Regions from separate parts of the Homo sapiens genome. Here region 2 is linked to region 1. Evidence: promoter capture Hi-C in 16 types of primary human blood cells and fetal thymus (Javierre and others, 2016). All regions are on one chromosome and are shown on one strand. Each heading gives the region's core, a stretch centred on a gene start or on the middle of the fragment in contact. The rest is flanking DNA. Distances are from core to core; before and after follow the strand shown. Region 1 holds the start of TRPC7-AS1 (TRPC7 antisense RNA 1). Region 2 holds the start of TGFBI (transforming growth factor beta induced).

Evidence for each region. Contacts are between HindIII fragments. The CHiCAGO score rates a contact against its expected background, and 5 or more counts as called.
Region 2: the fragment with the promoter of TGFBI here is called in contact with the fragment with the promoter of TRPC7-AS1 in region 1 in 3 of 17 cell types (naive B cells, total B cells and fetal thymus); the score reaches 7.4 in naive B cells.

The regions. Positions count from the first base shown.
Region 1 is chr5:136,211,650-136,217,449 of GRCh38, reverse strand. It overlaps TRPC7-AS1 (TRPC7 antisense RNA 1), which reads right to left and starts at 3,402. Exons shown (of 2, transcript NR_046708.1): 1 at 3,027-3,402. It overlaps TRPC7 (transient receptor potential cation channel subfamily C member 7), which reads left to right. Exons shown (of 12, transcript NM_020389.3): 11 at 1,175-1,250; 12 at 3,846-4,705. The coding sequence ends at 4,015. The HindIII fragment of the contact is 8,916 bases long and covers 1-5,158 here.
Region 2 is chr5:136,026,292-136,032,091 of GRCh38, reverse strand. It overlaps TGFBI (transforming growth factor beta induced), which reads right to left and starts at 3,104. Exons shown (of 17, transcript NM_000358.3): 1 at 2,903-3,104. The coding sequence starts at 3,036. RefSeq lists an enhancer at 818-887. The HindIII fragment of the contact is 4,637 bases long and covers 295-4,931 here.

The DNA of each region.
Region 1 (5,800 bases), core at 2,153-4,652:
AGTCTTAGAATCACAGGCCAGGAAGCATCTCTGTGGCAAGCTCTTCATGGTTAAAGGGATGGAAAGAACCATAATTGATGATAATGAGTAAATCCTGCAGCTCTTTGCATCCAGTTCACTTACTTTTTATTTGCAAGATGCTTTTCCTCAGCCTATGTAGCAAAGCTAGGAACAGAATCAGGTCCCTACAGGTCTCTTCAAACTGGAAAATGCTGCCTCTGTCCTCTTGGTCCTCAGGTGTGAGCAGGTCAGAAGGCCACAAGAAGGGAGGACCAAGGAGCAGGGAAATCCCTTCCTCTCTTCCACACTGCTCATCTCTTGGAAGATTCAGAAGTCTCGGCTACCCGAGTATTTTTAAATCCTGTGATTTCGCAGGAACCCTGGACCAACTAGCTGGCAAAATCCAAAGTTCACCTCCTGCAGTCTTTCCTACACTTGGCTCTATTCTTGGTGTCTCTTAAGTGTTTATTCATGCCTCGCCTGCTTAACGAATTCAGTATCTTCATAATAAATGGAACTTGAGGGCCAAATCCTGCTCCAGTGTGACTCCGGCAGTACAGTGTCAGGCCTGTGGGAAGTGGTATCTCTGTAAAACCCCAGAGGCCCGGCTGTGTCTGCTTCTGCTTCTGGTAGGAATTTTCCAAGGTACAGTGGACTTGTCCTCCAAGCCTGATCCTGACTTCTGTACCCAGCGGATCTCTTCATGAAGGGCACACTGCTCACTGTGACCTCTGAGGGAGGCAGCTCCACCCAGGCAGGCCTGCTAAGTCTTCCCCAGCCCTCCATCCTTAAAACAGAACTGAGGTCCAGGAAAGATGACTTGACTGAGCAGGGCAGAGCCAGGCCAAGGCCCCTGGAGCAGAGATTTGTGCCACTGCCCACTCCACCCTTTCTCTCTGTCTCTCTCTCTGCTTGGCTCAGCTTCCTGCCATTAAGAAGTATTCCTGTTACATCCCAGGTTCAGTTGCACATTGCATCCTGCGGGGGAGGCGAAACAGAGGCTGGCCAGGTACCCGCACTGTGCAGGGCACCCCTCCAGAGTGAGGCGCCAGGCATGGGAGGGTCGCCATGGTTGCTGAGGCTCTTCAAGGGAGGGAGGGGTCCTGCTACACCACGCAGGCTGCCTCTGCATTAGGCCAGCCCTGTCTGATCCCTTCCTTGCTTGGCATTTCAGAAAATCATGAAACGGCTCATAAAAAGATACGTCCTGAAAGCCCAGGTGGACAGAGAAAATGACGAAGTCAATGAAGGTAAATGACTGGATTTCCACCCACGTGGTGATTTAAAACAACACAGGTTCTGTGGGTCTCACTGGGCTACGGCCACAGTGTTGTCAGGGCACTGTGCTCCTTTCCAGAGGCTCCAGGGAGGCTCAGTCTCCTTGCTCATTCAGTTGTCGGCAGAGTGCATTTCCACGGGGCTGCAGGCCTGTCCCTGTTGCCTTGCTGGCCACAGCTGGGCTGCCCTGAGCTCCAGCACTTGGTCTGTGCATACAGCCCCACCACCTCAGAGCTGGCAGCAGGCATCAGGCACCCTCACACTCCATTTGCCCTGCCTCATCTTCCATTGTCCCATCTCTGACCCCACTCTTCTGCCTTCCTCCTCCACCATTTTTTTTTTTTTTTTTGAGATGGAGTCTCACTCTGTTGCCCAGGCTGGAGTGCAACGGCACAATCTCGGCCCACTGCAACCTCTGCCTCCTGGGTTCAAGTGATTCTCCTGCCTCAGCCTCCTGAGTAGCTGGGATCACAGGTGTGTGCCACCACGCCCAGCTAATTTTTGTATTTTTTTAGTAGAGATGGGGTTTTACCATGTTGGTCAGGCTGGTCTCGAACTCCTGACCTTGTGATCCGCCCATCTCAGCCTCCCAAAGTGTTGGGATTACAGGCATGAGCCACTGCGCCCGGCCCCTCCTCCACTTTTAAGGACTCATGTGATTGAATTGGTTCCACCAGGACAATCCAGAATAATCTCCTTCTGTTAAGGGCAGCTGATCAGCAACCTGAATTCTATTTGCCACCTCAGTTCCCCTTTGAGGAGAAACAGTCATGTTTCCCACAGGCAGAACATCAGGGATCAGGACGGGGACATCTTGGGAGTAGGGGACATTCCTCTGCCTCCCACAGCAATGGCAGCCTTGAGCCAACCTCATGCCTCTTGAGTGCAGGATGGTTCAGAATTCCAATGCTGTACTTCATTCCATGGTGCACATCCACTGAGCAGATGCACACTGCGTTTAGGGTCTGCCGCCGCTTGCTTCTAACTGGCCCTGTCCAGTCTCAGTGGGAGGTTCTCAGCATCTAACTGACAGCCGTGTTTCTCAAAGTGTTCCCCACCTCAGAACTAGCTGTTAAAACTACAGATCCCAGACCCCACCCAGACCTAATGAATCAGCATCTCTGGAGTGGGGTCTGGGGATCTGCTTTTGGAAAACTGCACCAAGGGTCTCTGATATACACTGAAGTTTACCAACTATATTATTTTCACTGTTTGGGTTGTTTTCCAGTCTATTTTAAGCAGTTACTCTTAGATGAAAAGCAAATTACTTTATGCCAGGTAATTAATGAGATACTTATGACAAATATTTGCCACCTAGAAACAGCCTCATCCATGATTGAAGTTTCTGTTCTCCTAGCTTGGGCCACAGGGAACTACAGAAAGAGCCTGGTCATTGGGTGACCCTCTGCTTCATCCTGGGGCACCCAGCATGCAGCTCGAAGCTCAGCCATAACTGAACTGCCCCTGAGCTGACATGGTTTAGGGGCAGACAACAGCCCACCTACCTACTTGTAGGTCTCAAACAATGGCCAAGTGTCAGGCCAGCCAGCCTCAAGCAGTATGTAACTGATTCATGTGAATATCACTGATCATAGAAGGTGGGGGTATCCAGGTGTCATGGCACTTAAATTACACCATGAAACGGGGGCTCAGTGAAGCATCTGATAAAAACAGGGGGTGTATCCATTTGTCAAAATGGATCAAACTGTACCTTTAAGATCTCTGCCTTTTATGTGTATAGACCATACCTGAAAAATAGACGAGTAATGTTTCCACAGACAGTGGACTCCCACACGAGCCAAGTGCAGTATCTACAGTATTAGGAAAGATCCTTTTGACATCTGTTTGTGGTTAATAAGAAGATTCCCACAGCCTAGACCCATTGGACTTCTAACCACAAGGTTCTCTGTGGAAATAAAAGTGAAAGTCCCTGCTAGGTGGTCCCTCGTTATGGAAGGAGGAGGCGGCAGGCATTGACGAAGCTCCTGTCAGCGAGGTGGTGCTGCTGCTTGTGTGGGCTGAGTGGACCGTGCTCAGGTGGCCAGCTCACTCCCAAGAGGCTGGTCAGCTCCATGGCCACCACGGCTGCATCTGCTGTGCCGAGCCATTCTCTCCAGGCTCCTGGGAGTTTCTCCTCCCTACAAATAACAATGACAGAACAAAACATAGCATCATCAAAAGCAATGCTCTGGTTAATGGGGTTGTTTTCCAGAGTCTTGAAATCTGCCTTTAGTGACTCTGAAACAAACTTTCTAACAAGTATTTTATGAAACAAGTGCTAGACACAATTCACAGCCCTGATCTTGACTCCTCCTTCAAACCCCTAAGGGAAAGGTTTTCCTGGAATGGGAGGAGAAGGGCTTTCTATGGATCGATGTGTCCTTCAGTGGTGGGGGAGCTGGGTGGTTCTGGGTTCAAATAGAGCCCCCCTTGCCTCACCTTCAACCCTGGTGGGCTGGCCCAGGACCCGACATTCCACTGGAAGGATGCACATGCCCACATGTGCATGGGACAAGCCCCGAGCTTCCACCTACTCAGACTCAGCAAAATCTCCTCTGTCCTTGCAGGCGAGCTGAAGGAAATCAAGCAAGATATCTCCAGCCTGCGCTATGAGCTTCTTGAGGAAAAATCTCAAGCTACTGGTGAGCTGGCAGACCTGATTCAACAACTCAGCGAGAAGTTTGGAAAGAACTTAAACAAAGACCACCTGAGGGTGAACAAGGGCAAAGACATTTAGCAGCCCACATCGGCGTCTGTGACTTCTACCAGCATTCCAAGGCCAGGTTGGATGCCCTCGCCCCCATCCTTGGTGGGGAGGGGTCCCCAGCCCACTCCTCTAGGACACGAAGGGGATCTCCTGGCTCAGTCTCTTGCAGCATGACTGACATCTCCAGCCCGCTGGCCTGCCTAGACCCAGAACTGCTGTGAATCTAGGTGGTTGGGTAAGAAAAGCTACCATGGGAGGAGGGGAGGAACAGCCCCCTGACGAGTGTGAGACCTTTGGTCCAGCCACAGTGAAACCCATCCCTGTGGCCAGAGCAGGAAAAGGCCATCTTGGGTGCACACCTGTGCCCTCCCACTGCAGGTGGGACTGCAGCTCTGGCTGTGTCCTGGGAAGACAAACACCTCAACCCACAAACTCCTTCTCACTCCCTCCCTGCCACCCCCAACACATCCAAACAGAACCAGGAGGTGACCTGTGATCTATTCTTAAGTGCCAGATGAGAACACAGCCTAATAGCAAAATAGTTCTATTTGTTTATATAAAAAAAAAGTTTAAAAATCCTAAATTGAAAACTGTACTGTAGGTAGCACTGTTTAGAAAACAACAACAAAATCCAAATGATGTATTTTTACCTTTATTAAGATTATCTTGTATTTACTATTTTTACCTAAAATGGAAAGAAATAAAATTACCTCATAATAACTTCTGTGGATACGCTACCAGGGCCGCCCCACTCGCGGGCCCAGTCTGGAGGTGGCCTTGGGAACCTGTGGCCCAGGGATGCTTCGGGAGGAGAATGGGCCGATGCGGTGGGGGTTGGGTGGGGACGAAGGCACCACCCTCCTTAGAGTCATGCAGCCAGGACCCCCAGAAGCTCCAGCCTCCACCTCCAAGCCCCTCCTCCTGTGCCCAGACCTAAGGTCAGGAAGGAGGTAAAGGAAATGCAGAACAAGTGGAAAGTTTTCTCCCACCCCATTCTAGAACTTTCCTCCATGTGAAAGGAAGGGGAGGGGCAGGAATGAGGCCTCAAAGTGTCCCCCCAACCAAGGAAGAGGCTAAGTGTGAGTGGGGAGAGCAGCCACCAGAGGGCGCTGAGTCCCAAACAATGCCTGTTCGGAGCAGGTGTGCGAAGATGCCATTCATCTTCCAGAAGCTTCCAGAAGAGCCCTCTGCTCCCAAGGAAATATTCCTAGGGCTGGCCAGAAGTATTCAGCTTTTGCCGTGTACCAGGCACTGTGCTCGGGGCTTTGCATGCATCAGTCCACCGGATCCTCACAGCAACCCTGTGAGGAGGGTGATGGTTACAAATTCACATGCCTTGCAGACGTTCTAGAGGGGGGAAGATAAATATATAATAATTATATATATATATATATATGCATGTGTGTATGTGTAAATGTATATATGTATGTATATGTAGAAAGAGGGAGCTTGTGTTTCAAGACATACGTCTTTGTCTTCAGGGGCAAACATTTTTTTTACTTAACTCTGCTATAAGAAACAGCCGATCAGATGAGGCGATAAATAGAAGTGAGGTTGGTGCCAGCATTGATGGGAGTGACGAGGGACGATGACAGACTGCACAGCCGTGCCCTGCCTAAAGCAGGCTGCAGACACTCAGCTCAGCCCATCGTTGCCATAAGGAATATAAGTCCTGTTTTGCCACATCTTCCCAACTGCTGAAAAAAAGAAAAAGTCAACATTTGTTGGGCTCCTGGCCGCCAAGATAGGCAGCAGAAGATGAGACATGGCTCCATGCCTGGGCCTTCCCAACCCAATCTGCACCACCACCTAGTA
Region 2 (5,800 bases), core at 1,855-4,354, 190 kb after region 1:
TTGCTGGCCATACTCCAGCCCCCGGTCCTATTTATTGTTACAGAATCCCAGAAGCTCTTCAATCTGATCAAGCAGGAAACAATTACTGTCAATGAATTCCCTGCCACTTTCCGTAGGCGTTTGGCGAATCTTCAGTGAGTCTCTTGTGGATGTGGCTCCAACATTCCTTTGCTGAATGTTTCCACTGCTGCTGTCCTTGTGGCAGCAGCAGAGGCTGGGGGCGGCTGTGACCCTCTCCTTCTCACATCGGGGAGTGTGGGTGGGCTGTGTACATAGGAAGTTCATGCTGAAGCTTAATTGAAATGAGCAAGTTGCTTCTGGGCCTCAAGAATAACAGCATTGATGTTCAGCTTAGATTTGAAAACCAAGTGCTTCAGGAAATTCAGTTCAGTTTTTGGTGGTTGATGTTTGGAAGTGTGATTGTATTTTTACTTCTCTTTCAGTATTATTTTTCCCCTTCCCTATAGCAACACAGATATAGCTGGGAGTCAAGAGACCATATCATAGTTATTACTCTCCCAACAGCATTCTGTGTCTGAACTAAGTCACTCTCTACCTCACTAAGCTGCAGTTTCACCTCCTGTAAAATGGGAACATGAACAGTAGATCTCACTGTGTTGTGGTGAGGTCGAAAGCAAAAGCGGCAATCGAGTGCTGCGCACAAGCAAGGCACAGCTGTTATTTCTTCCTTCATATCAGGCAGCACGCTACAATTCCTTAAAATAGCAAAGTTTTCCTTCCCTTTCTAACAGTTTTCACTTTGAATGAAAGGCTGGAGCTAGAACAACGTTATCCATTTGCACAAGGCGCCACAGCCCTGTGTGCCAGGCCAGGCAGCCCTGTGGCATTAACAGGGACAGTTAGATCAGAGTAAATACAACTGTGCCTGCAACCATTTTGCCATGGTTCATGTGCCTGCGCATCCAGATTCTACTGGGACAGGGGTGCTCCTGTGACTTCTTAGATTACTCTGCCCATCACAGATTACAATAGGCCTTTCCAGCTGTGCTGCAGGAAGCTAATTAAGAGGCTTTGCCTGCAGGGGTATGGTGGGGAAGTTGATCTAATATCTGGAACTCATAATCAAGAGCATCTGCATTTAAGAAAAAAACCCTGTTTTCCAGCTGGTCAGCACTCTTCTGGGCTCTGAAGGGAAAGAGGTTTGCTGTAAAGATGGCTCTTGATGGAAAGCCCTCAATACCTTTGAGGATCCTTCACTGTGGCTGTGCAGAGAGATGCCCTTACAGGTGACACTGTTGCAGGGCATGCTATAAGGATCTTCTCCTGACTTAGTGGCGAAGATACAGAAGAAATAGAACCCTCCTAGGCAAATTGAGGCACCCAAACATAACACAATTCATTGGCAGGAAAGGCAGAGAGACCAACGGAGAGGTGGGCAGAGATAATAAAAATGCCAGGTGCTTGCATTTTGATGTTGAGGCCTCATATCCCTCTCATCTTTCTGACATCCCCCCTCACTCTATTCTGCACACTGCCCAAGTCAAAGCTGATTCTCCCACTTCCAGAAAGACCCCAGGATATCCCCAGTATTCTCCTCTTTCCAGGAGGGTGTTGAGGTTGCAGCCAGGCCTGGTTTGATTTCACTCTGCAGGGTGGCCAGATGTGCTCCCAGCAGGCCCTCTCCGCCAGAGCCCCAAACTCCTGAAAGGCCTAGACCATAAAGCCACAAGTAGAGGAAACAAGAGCAACTATGCCCTACAAGGGGCAGCCTGTACCCGTACCCAGAGCACTCCTAGTGCAAGGAGCCAAGACTTTCAGGGCCTGTGAAGTCAACTCTATCACCCCCAACAATGAGTTTTGATTTGAGCACAGATCTGCCCAGTCTCTTGGAGGTTTGGGCATTGCTTGTGGGTGTGAACGCCAGACCCCGATGGTATTTAGGCTTCCTCTGAGGAGTCACTACAAGATTCTACTCATATATAGTTTTACCTAGTTATGAAAAAGAAGTTGGTGCAACCAGGTAGGCTGGAAGCTGCAGCAAAGCCTGGGTATTTGTGACGCAGGTATGGCCTGGTTTTTGAGGTAGAAATGTTGCCTGCCTCTGCCTGGGTCAGTATTAGGGCCACTATCAGACCAGACCTTCTGCTTGAGTTTGTCTCCTAAAGCCAACACATCTTCAGGGTCTCAAAGGAATTCCTGCAATGATAGTGTCCTACATTTACAAACCCAGCTATTACTTTAAGACAGACTCCAATCCTGGCTCCAGTGCACACTTCAGGACTGTGGGAAAGTGGAACCACTCAGGACTCAGTTTCCCCATTTGAACAGTGTGTGTGAGGGCCCAGTGCATTCTCCTGCTCTTCATCGGGCAGGACAAGAAGTGCCACATTGCCCTTGCTGTACCCAGAGAGCAGTGTCGGGTGCCAGCAGTGTCTGAGTGCAGGGCCTGGCCAGGAGCACAGGAGCCTGGGGCACCTTAGATGCTGCCACCGTGTGTGGCCCAGGTTCTTGTCTGGAGTCGCTGGCCGGGGGCCTGGCTGGGTTGGAATAGGTGTACTGCTGGGTGGGCTTTGCCCTTGGCACCCTCCCACGGTGATTATGGCCAAAGAGTTGCCATTTCCCCCTTTCTGCAGTGGCTGGGAGGAGAAGCTGAAAGCGCTGTCCGTCTCAGGCTCTTGGCCTGCGTCGAAAGTCTCTGGTCCACTTCCCCACTCCCTTCTACAAAGCGGCGGCCTCCCGCTTTCCCTCCATGGTCCTCCACCTCCCTCCCTCTCTCCTTCCACCGCGTGCAGGGCTGGTGTCCGAGCGCTCCATGCTGCAAGGTTTTTAGTTCGGGCTTTGTCCCCTGCGCCCCCAGCCCAGTTCAATGCCCCCAGCGGCTTGCGCTCCGAGCCCCGACTACCTGACCTTCCGCAGCCCCTGGCCAGGCGGCTCGGCTTACCCGTGCTGGCGGCCCCGGAGCCTGCTGTGCTGCAGCACCAGCTGGTAGGGCGACTTGGCGGGACCCGCCAGGGTCGCGGCGGGGCCCAGGGCCAGAGCCAGGGCGAGAGCCAGCAGCCGCACGAAGAGCGCCATGGAGCGGGACGACGCGCACCGAGCGAGCTAGCGACCGACGGGCAAGCGGGCGGCTCCAGGGAAGTGAGAGCGCCTCCGCCGCCCGGGCCAGGTTAAGTAAGCTGCGAGCGGGAGGGAGCGGACGCCAGGGGCGGGGAAGCTGGGCCGGCCCGTGCAAGGAGGGCGGGCCGCCTGGCGCCTCCCAACCCGTGCGCCCCTGGCTGCCCTGGGCACCCACCCGCTCCCGCACTGTGCCCGTGCTCAGTTTTCCCAGCCCTTGCCCTCACTGCCAGCCCTCCCTCCCTCTCTCCCTCGCCACAGTCTTCCTCAAACCAAGGGTATAGGTCCCTTAGGCCTCCTGTGGCTGCTTCCAAATGGGGACCTTGGGACTGAGGGACAGCTGTCTCGGGGGCTTCGGTCCTGCATGCTGGGGGCCCGAAGATTCCCTCACTGATCTTGAGGCTACAAAACACTGCAGGGAGGGGTGAGGGGAGGCAGTGCTGATTCCCAGAACACCATGGCCCATCAGACTTGTTTCTGCACCCCAGGAGCTGACCACCCTCCCCAGCTCCTCAATCTCTAATCCCTCCACCCCCACCCCACCTGTCATGCTCATTGAAAGACAGATGAGTAAATCGTGTGATCCACAGAAACGCCAAAAATGTGGGGCAGGTTTTGTTGGGCTCTAAGCTGCTTTTGGAGCCCGTGGGGAAGGGTGGGGTCCTCACCTTGGTACTAATTCATTCCCTTCTTCAGTAAACATCTCTGCAACAGTACCTGCCAGATAGATTCTGCAAAGGCAAGAGTCCTGCCCTGGAGGAGCTCAAGGCAGGTAAACAAATTGTCACATGGTAAAGAGGTGATACTTACCCAAGCATCTATTAATCACCTGTCAGTTACTTGGCACTGCTAGCCCTGGGGAGACACAGATGGATTAATAGAATGAGTGAGACCTAAGCCCTTTGTGAAAAAGCTCCAATTTGGGAAGATCCGTAGCCCAAGCCAATGATGTTCCATGAAGAGTAGCTGGGGCTTTGGGAGCTAAGAAGAGGCACCTGGCCCTGACAGGGTGATACCTGCTCTGAGGCCTGAAAGATGAAAATGAGTTAATCAGGTAAACTGAGGCATGCATTCACGAAACTCAAGTTATCTGGTTGGCTGAAGCACAGGGAGGTGGAGTCAAGGGTAGGGAAGAAGGGGAGGAAGGTAGCAGGGCCCAGACTCCAGCTAAGAGCCTAGCGGGTGATGGGTGGAGGCAAGTGACATGGCCAGTGTCATGAGAGGCTTAAGGAGGCAAGAAGAACAGGTAACCAGGAAGGGACCATGGGAGAGCTTGAACTATGGTGGTAGAGGCAGAGATGGGGAAGGCTGGGCAAATGTGAGGGGTGTAGGAGGTAATAGTCTCAATAGAATTTGGAGTCTGTATACAGGGAGAAGGGGAGAAAGGAGAGTCAAGGATATTGTAGGGTGTTTGTGGTCTGGACATTGCAGCAGGTGATGGTGCCATGTTCAGAATGAGGCACATGCAGAGTGCAGGCTTGCCAGGTAGATGAGTGGTTTGGGACACCCTGAGTCTGAGGTGCTTATGACTCATCCTGGTGAAGCATCCCATGAGGATAAAGCTGGATATGAGGATCGGGGGCTTGAGTGAGGGACGCGGGATGAAGATTCACACCTGGGAGTCATCCTCCAGTGACAGAAGAGCCCAGGAAGTAGAGAATGTGGGGTTGTAGTCAAGGAGGGGTATCCTAGTAGGAGGGCGCTGCTCAAAGTGAGGAATGCTGCCAACAAGACAGATCTGAATGGCTTTCACTGTGTCAGAAGCAGAGAGGCCACTGGGGACTTGGCTGTGGAGAGCAGATGGCCAAAGCCCGAATATGGTGGTTTGATGGAGAGATGAGTAGCATGTAGAAGCTTGTCTGAGAAGGGAAGGGGCGAGTTAGGATGGCAGCCAGGGAAAGAAAAAGACAAGCGGGGCTTGGAGAGGTTAGAACTCTGGTAGAAAGAAGGTGGGAAGGAGAAGGGAGAGAGTGTGGGCACTGGAGGAGGGCCTACTGAGAGCATAAAGCAACTGAGGGCCTGCATGGGGAGTGATCAAGCTAGTGGAGAGGAGGGAACAGGTGTATGGGAGATTTTAGTGGTAGCATTGATTAGACTTGGAAACCCCTTGGGCATGCAGGGTTAGGGAGGGGGAGTAGAGCTAACCTCGAGGCTCATAGCTGGCAGGAAGGGATGCCTGTGCTGGGCACGCTGGTGAAGGTGCACATTTGGGTGTGTGAGGAGAGTGCTCCATTTGTGTTCACATTATGTGTGAACAAGCCACCTGCATTTCCAGGAGGGATGGACAGGAGGGAGCTATATTCAAAGGTCTTGAGCTCAGGATAGGTATGAGGATTGGAGATGCAGATTTGAGTCACCACTACGAGCAGGTGGTAGCTAAAGTCATGCACTGGATGAGCTTCCTTGGGAGCAGGTGTTGGAAGAGAGGAGGAGGAGGAAGGAGAAGAAAAGGAGAAGATGGGTTCAAATACCAGTCTTTCTACTTCCTAGCTGTGTGGTCTTGGGCAAGTTATTCAACCTCATAGAGAGGATAATAAAACCTACCTCACAGGACTCTAAACTAGATTACATGATACAATTCAAGTAAAATGGCCAATAAATATGCATTGCTATTATTATTATTACCTCTCCCCAGTCATTGTTCTATATAGTAGGGTTCAATGAAACAATATGATAGTTTTGAGCAACTACAGAAATAATTATCTGAAAATGCTCATTTCATTTA